Regions from separate parts of the Homo sapiens genome. Here region 2 is linked to region 1. The links are contacts of gene promoters, found by promoter capture Hi-C in human tissues and cell types (Jung and others, 2019). All regions are on one chromosome and are shown on one strand. The core of a region is centred on a gene start or on the middle of the fragment in contact, and the rest is flanking DNA. Distances in the headings are between cores, read along the strand shown. Region 1 holds the start of ACTC1 (actin alpha cardiac muscle 1). Region 2 has its middle 33 kb from the start of LINC02252.

What was found. The method cuts DNA at HindIII sites, captures the fragments that hold promoters and counts their contacts. A contact is called where the count stands out against the background at its distance.
Region 2: a contact is called between a fragment that was not itself captured here and the fragment with the promoter of ACTC1 in region 1, in 2 of the 25 tissues and cell types used here (aorta and stomach).

What each region holds. Positions count from the first base shown.
Region 1 is chr15:34,792,100-34,799,815 of GRCh38, forward strand. It overlaps ACTC1 (actin alpha cardiac muscle 1), which reads right to left and starts at 3,450. Exons shown (of 7, transcript NM_005159.5): 1 at 3,407-3,450; 2 at 2,581-2,731; 3 at 1,146-1,470; 4 at 309-470; 5 at 1-182. The coding sequence starts at 2,709. All of the region lies in intron 2 of GJD2-DT (GJD2 divergent transcript), which reads left to right. RefSeq lists an enhancer at 4,597-5,068. The HindIII fragment of the contact is 17,333 bases long and covers 1-7,716 here.
Region 2 is chr15:34,685,109-34,692,824 of GRCh38, forward strand. No RefSeq gene overlaps it. Among named protein-coding and RNA genes, the nearest start is that of LINC02252, 33 kb to the left of the region's middle. The HindIII fragment of the contact is 7,290 bases long and covers 977-7,716 here.

The DNA.
Region 1 (7,716 bases), core at 2,200-4,699:
GGGCTGGAAGAGTGTCTCAGGACAGCGGAAGCGCTCATTGCCAATAGTGATGACTTGGCCATCAGGCAGTTCATAGCTCTTCTCCAGGGAGGAGGAAGAGGCAGCTGTGGCCATCTCATTCTCAAAATCCAGGGCGACATAGCACAGCTTCTCTTTAATGTCACGGACAATTTCACGTTCAGCTACAGAAATAAAGAGTATCACAGTCATGCTCTGAAGCAAGAAGTCAATTATAGGGAGGTAGGCGGATTCAGTGAGAGAGGAGGAAAGCAGACCCACACTGTGGCAGATGAGACACACACACTCACCAGTGGTGACAAAGGAGTAGCCACGCTCAGTGAGGATCTTCATGAGGTAGTCAGTGAGGTCCCGACCAGCCAGATCCAGACGCATGATGGCATGGGGCAAAGCGTAGCCCTCATAGATGGGGACATTGTGAGTTACACCATCCCCAGAGTCCAGAACAATGCCTGCCCGGGGAAGTAGACAAGAACAAGGTAAATTCCTGAGGACAACACCACTGCTCTAGCCACGGCAAAGCCCGCTTCCAATCTTGGCTAAGAGATGCTAGCAATGGGCATTGATCCAGATAAAATTAGATTCCTTACACACAAAGAATAAAAATGCGCATCAGGAATACTAAATCTGAAGCAAACTGCAGCTCATCTTTTTAACTATTATAGTAGAAAAAATTCCCGAGGACACTTTCAAATGACCATCTTTCTTGTCAGCCACGAGCACATTATGTAAGCACCCAAGGGTGTTTTTCTTTGCTCCTATTGAACTTACACGTTTCTCTCTCTTTTGACTCAGACCCTGTATGGAATGTATTCTCCTTGGGGATGCTTGCCCAGGTGATGTGATGGTTTAAACACATAACAATGACTGCTGCACTCCAAGCTGCTACACTGCGCTGAGCTTTAAATGAGGGAAGGACCTATCTCCACAAGCTATCAGCTCCAACAATAATTGTGCTCCGAAACTAACCTCAGGGCACTACTGTTAACTCTTTCTCTTAGCACAGACCTTGCTAGGGAATGGGAGGAAAGGGATTATCCCTTTTTCAACTGGGGGATCTGATTCACAGCAAGGTCGGTGACTTGGGAATGTGATTCATCAGTAACTGTCCCCAGAGCCCAGCATACCTGTGGTACGGCCAGAAGCATACAGGGATAGCACTGCCTGGATGGCCACGTACATGGCAGGGACATTGAAGGTCTCAAACATGATCTGAGTCATCTTCTCCCGGTTGGCCTTGGGGTTCAGCGGGGCCTCTGTGAGCAGGGTGGGGTGCTCCTCGGGAGCCACACGGAGCTCATTGTAGAAGGTGTGGTGCCAGATCTTCTCCATGTCGTCCCAGTTGGTGATGATACCATGCTCGATGGGATACTTCAGGGTCAGGATGCCTCTCTTGCTCTGGGCTTCATCACCTACGTAGGAGTCCTTCTGACCCATACCCACCATAACTCCCTATGAGAAGAAAAAATGAGAAAATCATGCTCTCACCATGTCAGGAATATAATCAGTGTCTTGTCCATTTATATCTAACTGCCCAAGTCAAGGAACATATTTAAATACCAGAAATAACAAGCAATACGATTTTACCCCAATTTAGAAGAATTATTTAAAAATCAATCTTCTACCTTCTCCCCACTCCCCCAAAGATGTATAATTCTATTGTTGAGAATATAACTCAGGAGAGAATGAAGCTATTCCACTGAAGAAGCAGAGCCTCACCTCACCTTAAAAATATCATATGCCTTCATTAAGTTATTAAGCTCATCACCCATGTCAACTGGAATATAGATGACTGCATTTTGGAATGACTGAATTAATGACACATTGTATTTCTCCTAAGAAAAAGATTTTGACATTCAAGTGAACACATAATGATGGGCTGATATGCCATCCTCACTCCAACAGTGAAATTCAGCCTGTCCAGAGCTGTTCTGGAGTCATTCACCAGCTCTGAGGACTAAGCTCTCCTGCTTGGCAGCCTGTCTGGCCAGGCATGTGACAAACCCAGAGAGCATGGCATGTCTTTTAACAAACGAGGTGGTATGTCACTATCACCATGGCACTTGCTGCCTCTGTCACGCCTGGCTTCTAAAAATGCAACAGCCAGGAAGGAGATAGATTGATTACACCTTTGGGGAACCCTGTAAACTGGCTGTGAACATGAGAGAGGAATGTGGATTTGGTCCTGGTTGGTTGGGAGAGGTGATATTGTTAGAAGTTTTAAACAGGACTGAAAAGAGAGGACAAGGAAGAAAATGAAGTGTATAAGGCAGAGAAGACACTAAAGACTAAAAGTCCAAAAGGCCATTAGTGGAGAGAAGCAGGTGGCTTTCACACCAGGGAGTGGGACCCTTTTAGAGGCGTGCCACTCAGGTGTACATTCCTCAGTATGTTGGGGTTTTGTGGAGTATTGCTTGCCTTGGCTTGGATTTGAAGTCAATCAGCCTTCTCTTAATTTGGCCTAAAGAGTTCATCGAACAAGAGGGTCAGGTGAGAGCCATTTCCTAGATCGCTGGACTGAAGGGGTCCCGAGTGGGACGGGGGGCTCGGCGGGAAGTTTACCTGGTGCCGCGGGCGGCCCACGATGGACGGGAAGACAGCGCGGGGCGCGTCATCGCCCGCAAAGCCGGCCTTCACCAGCCCAGAGCCGTTGTCGCACACCAGGGCGGTGGTCTCCTCGTCGTCACACATCTTGGCACAGCTTCAGGGGGTTCTGCAGGTTGAGGAGGGGAGGGCGGACCACGCTTAGCTGCCTGTGCAGCTGGCCTTCTCCGCACCCAGAGGACAGGACAGAGCAGAAGGGGGTTGTGGGGACTGGACAGGGGGTTGGGCGGGGAACACTCCTGCCACCTCCCTTCCCCTCGAATCATAAAAGGGAGGGAAGAAGCCGCGGAGGAGACTGGGGACAGAGAAGGGCAGAGGAATCCACCCAGGCTCCCTGGCCAGGAGTTCCAGCTAGGGTGCCAGGTGCAAGGAGGGACCCAAGAAACCCAGCCCCTTAGTCCTCCCCAGCCCTTTAACTTTCTTCCTTTTCACGAACTGGGAACTCGATCTCCAGCCCTGTCCATATCGCCATGCCTGTGCCCCAGATGGAGGGGAAAGCGCACGAGAGTAGGGACCCAAAAGCCCCTTGGGGAGCCACAAAATTCCCCTTCTTAGAGCCCCTGCGAGGTCCTGCGAGGACCAACGCCCAGGACAAAACAAGTTAGAACCAAATCAAAAAGTGTGGGCTTTAAAAAAAAAAAAAAAAAGGCAGTCGCAGAGCGGCAGGAGCTGGGGCCTTGGCTGAATGCGGGCCGGGCTGGCCAGGTGGCGGCGCGGGGCTGGCGTCCGGCGCGGCCCGCGGACCAGGCGAGGAGTGAACGCGGAGGGCCGGGCGCTGACTCACCGTCGGCGGGGCGGGTCGGCTCGGCTCCGGCGGCAGCGGGCTCTGGGTGGCTGGCTCCAGGAGGGCCGCTTTATAGAACGCTGATGGACAGGGTCAGTTGGAGCAGCCGGGGGCAGGGGTGGGGGGCCCGGTCTGCCACCTTGCCTTATTTGGTCCCCTTCGCACCCGCTAGGACTGCCGAGGCCATTCATGGAGCCAAGGGCAGGGGAGAGGATCAGCCAGGGAGCCCCCAGACCATGTAAGGAAGGGGAGGGGGCAGTCAGGGGGATGGCCAAATAGGGAGCTGGGGAGGGGCAGGCGCTGAAGGGTAGGGGGCAGGGGAAGACTAAGTGACGCCAGCCCACCCCTCCCCCTTTCTGGGGTGTGGGTGCTCCCTGGATGGTCTGTGGATTCGGTCCTCCGCAGCCCTGCCAGCCTTGGGGACAATAAGCCACATGCAGTGGGAAGGCTTGGCGCCCTGCCCTCTGCTGAGGGGTCCTGACAGCTGGGCCAGGGCAGCAGGGGAGCAACAGCGGCTTCTCATCTTCCAGGGCTGCCACCAGCACAAAGGACACCGCAGCAGCACATCTGAGTGGCTGCAAAAGGGGCACCCAGGACAGGGCACCCTTCTGGTCTAGTCCCCGCCAGCCTGAATGGCTTTACTCAGAGAGCTGGTGCTGGGCTCATCTAGGTCAGAAAGCTGAGATTAACCAAGGCCACCCGAGTTCCAACCCATGCATGGATCAGGGTCTGGCCAGGGAAGAGTCAGAAAAGGGTTTCTGTGAGAGCTTGGCCAAGTCTTGCTGGAGAAGGGACCAGGTTTACCCCAGCCCAGTTATTGGGTAGCCCTCATCCATGCTGCAGGGTTTTGCTCAAATTCAGACTCTGGTCTTCAGGCCAGAAAAGGATCCCCTGCTGCCAAAGTGAATAAAGGAACAAATGCCAAAAGTAGCTTGCCCACTTGATGGTGGGGAGATGAGCATCTTTAAACTGGGGGCAGAGGCCCTCACTCCAGGTGGAGACAAGACTGCAAAGGCAAATACTTTGATGGAGAACATAGCAACAACTTAAACTATAGGACTACACCAATCCTTGCTACTCAAAGTGCAGCCCATGGACAAGCAGTATTGTCATAACCTGGAAATGAGCTAGAAATGCAATCTCAAGAGCCATCCCAATCCGCTTTTCAGCAAGATCCTCATTTGCTTGGTATGTACATTAAAGTGTGAGAAGCATTGGCATAAATGACAGATATCATCTCCTCTGTGGAAAACAGATTTTGCAGGATCTTGAACTTTTGAGAAGGAAAAAGAAAAATGACATGAAATGAGGAGAGGGAGAAGGAAGAGGGAGATGTAAGAAGGACACAGATCACTAGTTTGCCCTGGGGTGCCCTGCATTCTCAGTTCTTGACTGGAGCTTTGATTTTTAATGCTTGTGTTTTTCCTCCAGTTCACACCAGTTAAAAATAGAAAACTGGGCACTGGCATCTCTCTCTAGAGTGGTCTTGGGCTGATATGCTGAGGAGGCCTGCTGATTAGATACTTGTCCCGACTGGGGAATGCTGGGCCCTCCCCTCTGAACTCCCCAACCATGTTTGGGTTGGTCTGGAGAAGAAACGCGATGGGCAGCTGTGTGGTGGGGTCGGGTAAGAGACCTGGCTGAGATTACTCTGTGCAGCACAGCAGGCATTTTACAGTGAAAATGTTTATTGACAGGATGCCAAGAGTAGAACTGCCTTGTCTCGTGAAAATATAGAAAAACCAAGGAAAAGGAGAAATGGGACTGGTGTCAGAGCCAGACAGAACTGGGCTCAAATGCTGCCTTTATCACTTACTAACTATCTGTTTGGTCTTGAGCAAGACACTTAACCTTCCCAAGCCCCAAGTTTTCCCTCTCAAAAGTGATACCATAACACTTGTTGCAGAAGTTATTGTGTATTGTAATAGTTAGAAACAAATGCTGTAAGTAATATGGAAGATACAAAGCAAATTGTATGTGTAATAATGATACTTTTGGAGGCAGTAGTAGCTCTGCCTTTTAAAGAATCAGGTTGATTTCATTCTTCATTGATTCAGCAAATCTTTGCAGGACAAGAACTGTGCTAGTTAAGGATTCAGTGATAAATAAAACAGAGCAGGACTCATCCTCCGTGGCAATTACAGAAAAGTCAGACAGCTATGGCACAAACTGGGAGGGAAGAAGAGGTATCAGCAGGATAGTCACAAAAAGGGAATGGAGGTCTGAAAGAGTTGCCGAGAAAGCCTTCCCCAGGATGTGTTGTTCGTTTTTAAAAGTAGAGCAGAACTGAAGTTTATGAACATTTGTGTGAGAGAAAGAGTTTCTGCATGGGAGTGGCTGGTGAGAGACTCCCACTATGACTGCTATAGGTGCAAAGACTCTCAGGAATGGAAAACCATGATTATTGACCTTTGTCCTTCGCACAGGCTTCGGGGATCTAGGAGGCCACTTCCAGCCCCCTCATCTCAGGACCATTGGCTCTAGTGGGAGGCCAGTAGAACAGTGCAGGACACAACAGCAGTTTTGTGAAACAATATTCACCCTTAAAATGTTTGAAAAATGTGTTTCCTATTCCGCTCAATTTCATTGCCTAACACTCAAAACAGTGTATTTTCATATGTGTTATGTGTGTAGCAAGAACGAATGCTTATTTCTTAAAAATTTATGATTGTTTGATATTTACTATTTGTATTACCACTCAATTTCCACATTTTATTTATTTTATTTTTATGTATTTGTTTGTTTGCTTCAGACAGGGTCTCCCTCTGTTACCCAGGTATAATCAGGTGCGGTGGTATAATCAGGGCTCACTGCAGCCTCAACCTCCCAGGCTCAGGTGATCCTCCCACCTTAGCCGATTCTCCCACCTTAGCTGATCCTCCCATCTCAGCCTCCCAAACAGCTGGGACTGCAGGCACATGCCAACACACCCCGCTAATTTTTGTATTTTTTGAAGAGACGGGGTTTCACTATGTTGCCTAAGCTGGTCTCAAGCTCCTGGGCTCAACTGATCTGCCAGCCTCAGCTTCCCAAAGTGCTGGGATTACAGGCATGAGCCACCAAGCCTGGCCTTGATTTCCACATTTTAAAAACTTTGAACCCTATTTTATATATTTTAAAATGTAAACCAACAGGAAAGTAAGATTTCATGACTGAGTTTTATTTAAACTACTTTTTACAGATCCACTTAATTTGAAAATTGAGATTGGCTTTTTAAGCATATAAAAATGACATCTCAAAAAAAATTACAAAACAAAGAAGAAAAAAATGACATCTCCTCTTTGGTACATTCTAGATTTTTTTTTAATTATGGTAAAATATGCATATATCAAATTTACTATCTTAACCATTTAGGAATACAGAGTTCAAAAGTGTTCAGTGCATTCACATTGTTGTGCAGTCTCCGAGTGTTATTTTTTTTATTGCTAATTGTGACTAAATTGTGCTTCCTGCAGTTTGAGAAAGACCAGTTTATATCCTATGAGGTAGGGAACCACTGAGCCTTTTTTGTCTGAGGTCACACAGGTGAGCAAATGGTGGAGTGACAATTCAAACTCAGGCACCTGATTTTAAGCCCTATTCCCAACCACCACCAAAAATACCTTCACATATACTTGGTCTGCTATTTCTCAGAATGTGATGCTAGAACCGCCTCCAGCCAAATTACCTAGACTGCCTCATAGAAATTCAGATTCCTGGGTTCCACCCTGGAAGATTGAATCTGCATTTTAAATGAGCCCTCACTGTTCTCCCCTAGGTATGTTTCTCTGCAGAGTGAAAAACTTAGCCGCACTGCTTGGCTGTTCTCTCTGAAGCCCACAGAGCTTTGCTGGATGCTGCCCAAGCTGCCAGTGCTGGCTGGAGTCCAGGTTGGCTGACCTTGTAGATCCCAGTGGGATGGCAGAGCTGGGGCGGGTCCCCAGGGCTCTTGAGGGCCAGTGAAGCCCTTTTCGGCGTGGACTGGCCATGAGGGAGACGTGCAGGGCAAACTGAAGGAACAGAAGGTGGGACAGTTCCCACTGCCCTTGCCTCGGGGGAAGTCTGTTTCATCCACCATCTGCTGGGATCTGGAAGGGAGCGGCCCAGCCTCCTCCCCGGCACTGGGGGATTAGCAGTCACTTATCTCAGCTGTTCCTCCGTTCGGAGGTGTCACAGTATTTACAGAGAAGCCAGAAACAGACAGAGCCACACTTAATTCCTCCCCATGAGCCCTCCCCATCACCTCCTGTCCCTCCTGCATTCTGTGTGCCGGGGGAGGGAGAGCCTCGGTTTAGATCAGACCGGGGGGAGGATCTAGCCTTCCTAAACAT
Region 2 (7,716 bases), core at 3,372-5,871, 110 kb before region 1:
ATATGCAGAAAAAATATGGGGGCCAGTCCAAGTGGCTAACATTTATAATCCCAGCACTTTGGGAGGCCAAGGTGGGTGGATCACCTGAGGTCAGGAGTTCGAGACCAGCCTGGCCATCATGGCGAAACCCAGTCTGTACTAAAAGTACAAAAATTGGCTGGATGTGGTGGTGTGCACCTGTAATCCCAGCTACTCAGGAGGCTGAGGCAGGAGAATCACTTGAACCCTGGAGGTCGAGATTGCAGTGAGCCAAGATCGTGCCACTGCACTCCAGCCTGGGCAACAGAGACTCTGTCTCAAAAAAAAAAAAAAAAAAAAAAAAATGGGGAAAGGCGTGGTAAGAATCACTACAATATGGTGAAAAGCTTGGTCTTTGGAGACAGATCTGAGTTAGAATTCCTGGACTACCACCAATTTTGTTACCCAGAGCAGTTTATTCAACTTAGCAAAGCTCAGTTTCCTCACCTGGAAATGAGAAATAATATTAGTACTTACACCATAGCATCGTTTTAAAGAATGAACAAGGTAATGCAGGTAAAGTGCTAAGAACAGTGGCTGGCATACAATAAATATTCATTAAGTGATAATCTTTATCATTTGTTTTGAAACTCATGTTATTATAAGTTTTACTCCTCATAAGCTATTACTAGGAGTTCAATGTATTGATGGGACAGTAAAGAGGACAACTGAATTAGATGGGGAGAAGTATGCTGTGGAATAGTAGGAAATAATATGGAGAAGTAGGATGGGGCCAGATTATAGCTAGCTTTAGCATCTCTAGTGTTGTTGTTGTTGTTGTTGTTGTTGTTGTTGTTGTTGTTGTTGTTGTTTTCCAAGATTTGGGTCCCTAAGTGAAAAGCCAGTTAGTGAAAGTGAAATATGACACGATCACCCTGCCCAACAGCAGTGCTAAAAGGATTCTATTGCACTGCCATGACTGTCCATATGGAACTGCCTGCAGATGCCCTTTTGGAGGTTGTATAATGGATTTTTAAAAGAATGCTGCCAAGGAAACTTATTGAAATTTTCTTTTTGTATATACAGATCAATTCTATAGGTAGAACCTTGACATTGAGAGCTGAGATTTCACATATGTTATTCTAAGTCTGTGTCCCAGCCTCTGTGGTCAGATGAATATAAGACATATAGAGCAGAGCAATGAAATGTTTCTGATTAACAAGAATACATCATAGAGATATGTAAGTACTTCCAGTACACATCGTGAATATGTCTACTTCTCTCCTCTCCATCTGGTGCTACCACCTTACTCCAAGCCACATCATCTCTCACCTGGACTGGTTTTCCAGCTTCTATTCTTCCCCCACTAAAACTCATTTTCCATTTTCCAGTGTATTTTCAGAATTTTAACAAGGTCACGCTTTTCCCCTCATCTAAAACTTTCTAATGACTTCTTATCATGCTTGAAATGAAACTCAAACTTCTTACCCTGGCTTATAAAACCCTTCCTGCTCTTGCCCTTGCCTTTCTTTCCATCCAATTTTGGGAATGATTACAACATAGTTGCAGTCATACTTCCAGTCACTTTATTTACTATACTTCAGTGATGCTGGCCATTTTTCTTGTCAAGCTTATTTTCACCTTAGGGCCTTTGTACTGATTATTCCCTTGCCTGACATGCTTTTCCCCAAATCTTTACATGATTGACTCTTTGTTGTTCAAGTCCCCACTTAAATGTTGTCTGTTTTATTTGATTATATTTTTCTCTAATTTTTCCAACCACTATCCCTACCCTCTATTAAAACATAAGCTCTGTGAGAGAAATGATCTCATATATCTTGTTCCGTGACTGTCTCTGCATCTGGAACAGAGATTGGTACATGATATATTCTTAGAATAAAATTGTTGATCAATTGGATGAACGAGTGGATGGATAAATGGTTCAGTCCAGGTAGATACAACTTGTCTTCCAAGGATTCTCACACACATACATACACACACTCGTACACACACACACACACACACACACACACACAATTCTCCCTCCCTGCCACCACCCTCTTTCTTCCTTCCTGTCTCCTTTATTTCCCTAATAAGTCTGAGTAGAGGTTTATCTATTCTGATATCTCAAAGAATCACTTTTGGTTTTATTAAATTTTGCTATTAATTTTTTGGTTATTTTATATTCCATTAATTTCTACTTTAATTTTTTATTATATCTGTACTTCAATCTACTTCGGGTGTAATTTGCCCTCTATTTTCTATTTTCTTAAGGTGGAAACTGGGGGCATTGATTTAACACATTTCTTCTTTTCAGAGTTGTGTTTTCCCCTGAGTTTTATTTTTAGGGACATCCTACAAATTTTTATATGCTGTGTTTTCATTTTCACCCAATTAAAAATACTTTTGAATTTCCCTTTTGATGTCTTCTTTAACCTGTGAGTTACTCAGAACTACATATTTATTTCTCGAATATTTGGGGATTTTCCAGAGATCTTTCTGATACTAATTTCTTTGTGTTCACAACATACTTCGTATGGTTTGAGCCATTTTAAATTTATTAAGACTTGCTTTATATCTCAGAATATGCACTATTATTAGGTGGTTGGCATATTCTATTAATATCAATTAGGTAAAGATGTTAATAGTGTTGTTTAAAATTTCTATATCTTTACTGATTTTCTGTCTACTTATTCTATCAGTAATTGAGAGAGGGCTATACTTTCACAGAAGGCAGGTTTGCACAGATCTAGGAAGCAAAAAGGCTGAAGAAAGAGGCTAAGGAACGCAGTTTCTTAGAAACACATATTTAAGGCCGGGCGCGGTGGCTCGCGCCTTTAATCCCAGCACTTTGGGAGGCCGAGGCAGGCGGATCACGAGGTCAGGAGATAGAGACCATCCTGGCTAACACGGTGAAACCCCGTCTCTACTAAAAAAAAAAAAATACAAAAAAAATTAGCCGGGCGTGGTGGTGAGTGCCTGTAGTCCCAGCTACTTGGGAGGCTGAGGCAGGAGAATGGCGTGAACCCAGAAGGCAGAGCTTGTAGTGAGCCGAGATCGCGCCATTGCACTCCAGCCTGGGAGACAGAGTGAGACTCTGTCTGAGAAAAAAAAAAGAAAAGAAAAAAAGAAAAGAAAGTCATATTTAATAAGGAATTAAGAACAGAAGCCATGTCTGTGTCTAGGGTGGCAACAAAACAAGATGGTGGATCCCTGAACCAAGACCTCCCAGACCCAGGACTTATATACCAGGAGTGGTTCAGAAGGGATGTGTAGGACAATTGAAGTATGATAGCATCAAGGTTACTTGACATAAAGGCAGGATTTATGGTAAGTACCTGCTGTTACACAGGAACAATAGATTAACCGGAAGTCTTAGAGCCCTTCCTGGAACGGGTTAATCAGAACCCAACATAGTGGTTTACTCTTCAAGACGGAGTTTCTTTAGCATCCACAAACATAATTGTGAATTTATCTATTCCTCCTTGAAATTTTATCAAATTTTTTGTTTCCTGTCTTTTGAAGCATTATTATTAACGTACATAAACATTTAGGACTGTGATGTCCTCTTGATTAAGTGATTCTTTTAAAATTATAAAATAATCTTGTCTCTGAAATCTGAATCTGAAATCTACTCTGTTTGATATTAATATGACCCTTCCAGATTTTTTTTAATAGAGAGAAGCATAGTATATTTTTCCCGTCTTTTACTTTTAGCTTATTTGTGTGTTTTTATTTAATCTAAGTTTCTTATAGGGAGCAAGTTAGATCTTGCTTCTTTTATTCAATTTGACAGTCTCTGCCTCTTAATTCGGGTGCTTAGATCATTTATATTTAATGTGATTATTCATATGATTAGATTTAAATCTCCTACCTTGCTATTTTTTATTTGTCCTGTCTGTAATTTATTTCCTGTTTTCCTTTTTATTTGCTTTAGTTTGGAGTAGTTGAGTAGTTTTATGGCACCATTTATATCTTTGGTTGACTTAATAGCTACAATGTTTTGTTTGTTTTAGAGGTTGCTTTAGATTTTATAGTATGCATCTTATCATAGCCTACCTTCATGTGGTATTATATGAAGTATAAGACCCTTTCAAGTATATACTTTTTTTCTTCCAGGCCCTGGTGCAATTTTATCATAGATTTTTCTTCTTTATATTTTTTAAACTCCATACTACATAGTTATTATTGTGTTTAAACATTTAATTATTGTTATAAACTGAATTGTGTACCTCCTTCCCCATAAAAAATGTATTTGCTGAAGCCCTAATCCCGAGTACCTCAGAATGTATCTAGAGAAAGAGTCTTTAAAGAAGTGATTAAAATAAAACAAGACCATTAAAGTGGGTCCTAATCCAGTTGGACTGATGTCCTTATATGAAGAAAAAATTTGGATACAGAGACACTAGGGATGCGTACATACACAGGAAACAGCAAGAAGGTGGCTGTCTGTAAGCAGAGAGGCCTCCAAAGAAACTAAACCTGCTGACACCTTCATCTTGGACTTCTATCCTCTAGAATTGTGAGAAAATAAATTGCTGTTGTTTAAGCCACCCAGACTGTGGTATTTTGTTGGCAGCCCTAGCAAACCAGTATGATTATCTTTTTAAAGATTTAAATGATAAGAAACAAATCTTACGTATTTACATATGTAGTTAGTTATCTTTTCCAGTGCTATTCATTTCTTTGTGTATTTTCATATTTCCATTAGGTAGCATTTTTCTTCTACTCGATGGATGATATGGTTTGGCTGTGTCTCCACCCAAATCTCATCTTGGATTGTAGCTCCCATAAACCCCACATGTCATGGGAGGGACCTGGTAGGAGGTAATTGAATCATGGGAATGGGTTTTACCTGTGTTGGTCTCATGATAGTGAATAAGTCTCACAAGGTCTGATGGTTTTATAAAGGTCAGTTCCCCTGCACAGGCTCTCTTGCCTGCTGCCATGTAAGACACGCCTCTGCCCCTCCCTTGCCTTCTGCCATGATTGTGAGGCCTCCCCAGCCATGTGGAACTGTGAGTCTATTAAACTTCTTTCCTTTATGAATTACCCAGTCTCGGGTATGTCTTTATTAGCAGCGTGAGAACAGACTAATACAGTGGACTTTCATTACATTTCTTATAGACAGGTCTGCTGGTAATAATTATCTTCAGCTTTTATGTGTCTTAAAAGACCTTTATTTTACTTTCATTTTCAAAGAATATTTTCACTGGGTGTAGAAGTCTAGGTTGAGAGCTTTCTACTTTCATTTCTTAAATGATGTTGCTCCACTGTTTTCTCACTTGTGTTGTTATTGAAAAGAAATCAATTGTCATTCCTACCTTTGTTACTCTGCATGAAATTTGCCTTTCTTTCTTTCTTTCTTTCTTTCTTTCTTTCTTTCTTTCTTTCTCTTTCTTTCTTTTCTTTCTCTCTCTGTCTCTCTTTCTTTCTTTCATTACAGGATAGGGAATGCCCAAGCATGAAGGCAGAGAGAAGTGGTGGGGAGAGGGGATTTGCAAGAGAAGATAATGGGGAAAGATCTCTCTGGGGATCAGGGGAAAAGAATGGTTAAGAGCATGGACAGCCTGGATTTGAATACCAGTTCTGCACTTACCAACTGAGTTATCTAAGGCAAACTAAGTATCCTCTCTGGACCTTGGTTTCCGTTTGTATAAAATGGGGATAATATTTTCTACTCCAGAGACTTGGCATCTGAGCTGAATGAAATGATTAATATTTGTAAAGTGCTGTGACATAGAAAAAGGTATGTGTAAAATTAAGTAAACCATTAGAACACTAAGTGACTCATAATAGATACAAACCCTTTTCAATTTAAGCAGAATTGGATTTTGTTAAGAGGATATTGGCTAGCTCATAAAATGTCTAGGAGGAAGAGATGGGCAGACCACAGAGCTGGTGCCATGAAGACACCACAGGCACAAATGGCACAGATACCATAGATGCTGCATTTTGCTGATGCCATGATGTGGGACTCAGAATGTTGCCAATAGAAACTGGAGGTAGCTGCCTCCATTCTCCCCAGCAAGGATCCAGCAGCCTCCCTGCTTTCTTGGGTCACCAGCCTCTAATTTCGTGGCTGGGTTGGGTGGAGACTCATCTGAGGTGGAGGCTTATGTCTGGGGTGGAGTAGGTTAGGGCTTACTCATAGCTACAAGGGAGCTTCTATAGTGGGAAGTAAGCTCCGCCTCACAAGTTTAGGGATTTCCCACTTTGAGCAATGAGACTTAAACACTGGGAAGTTTAAAAGAATGCTAAATGGGCAGAAGCCACCAAGGAAGAAGAATTAAAGAATATTAAATGAAAGAACCAGCAAACCCATATACAAAGTATAGGCTATTTATAAATACTTATGGATCAGATCTGGGTGAGAAGTTGTTATAAGGGATTACAAAATGGATTGAAAAGGAAATAATCTAGAATTCCTTTAAGGAGGTCAGAAATAGTGCAGTAGAAATATTGTGTTTTCAAATGTAGGAACAGGAAATTATGATACTATTCCTAACCCATCATAAGGGTCATGGCCAATATTCTTATAAAAAAATACAGGTTAACTAGAGAAAATCATAATACATTTATTTAACCAAAGTTTTACACGACATAGGAGCCTTGAGAAATGAAGACCCAAAAGCCAGGAAGAACTTTCTTTTTTATGCTTGGGTTTGATGAAGAATGGACAGCTGTATAAAAATGTGATTGGACAGAAAGGGTATAATCCGAGAGCAACAGACTGAGGGGGAAAGCAAGCAAGACCTGTCTGTTCAGCTTCTTCTTGACCTCTCTGTGTAGCGTTTCTTCCTCCTAGGAAGGGGTCCCTCTGGAATGAGGGTCTTCAAGGGAGAAGGGAGAGAATGACCTTTCTAGGTTTTACGGGTGGCTTTGAGAAAGAGGAGTTCTAGTTTCTATGACCCACCTTGGGGAAGGGGAAGTGTGGCTTCTATGACTCACTTTGGGGAAGAAAGAGAAGCAGGAGACAGGAGGATGGGAGAAGATGGGAAAGACCTTGGTTCTGAGGCCTTTCCAATTTTCTTCAGTTCAAAGTACTCAGCACACCAAAGCGCCATGCTTTGGAGTATCATATTCTGAGCCCAACACAAACATAAGTTTTCCATTGTTAATTTTTCTCTACTTTCTCAGGGTCTTCATTCCTACATTCTTACAGCCCAGGCGCTTCATCCACTGGAACTCTCCTCCATTACTCCCACCCTAAGCATTATTCTACACCCCATTTTTGCTCTCAATCAACTATTGATTCATTTTCCTGCAAAGGTGTTCACCAATAATTGAGGTGGCCACTGATAAACCATCAATGTGTGGAATCTCCTAGGGAACATTTACATTTCAGGAGAAAAACAAAGCCTTTAAGCTCTGAAGGAATACAAAATGTAGGAATAGCATTTTGTGGCACAGAGTTCTCCCTGGCTCTCTGAAAAATGGCTCTAGCTAAGACATCTGCCTATATTGCCAATTCAGCTCTCTAAGTCTCCTTCCTTGTGGCTGGCTGGTTGCAAATGAGGCATACCCATCTATACACAGAAGACTTCTGAGGGTCATGCACTGAGCACATGCCCCTCTCAGGGTGCATGCACCGACCCCTACCTTTCTTTTCAGCGCCTGTTTACACCATTGCCTTTTGCCCTATGAAGACACAGTCCTCCCTAAAGCCCAGTTCACCCCGTTCTTTCCTTTCTCAAAGGTTAAAAATAGCACTCTCTTCAATGACCTCAATAATTTAGAACCCATGAATAAGTCATT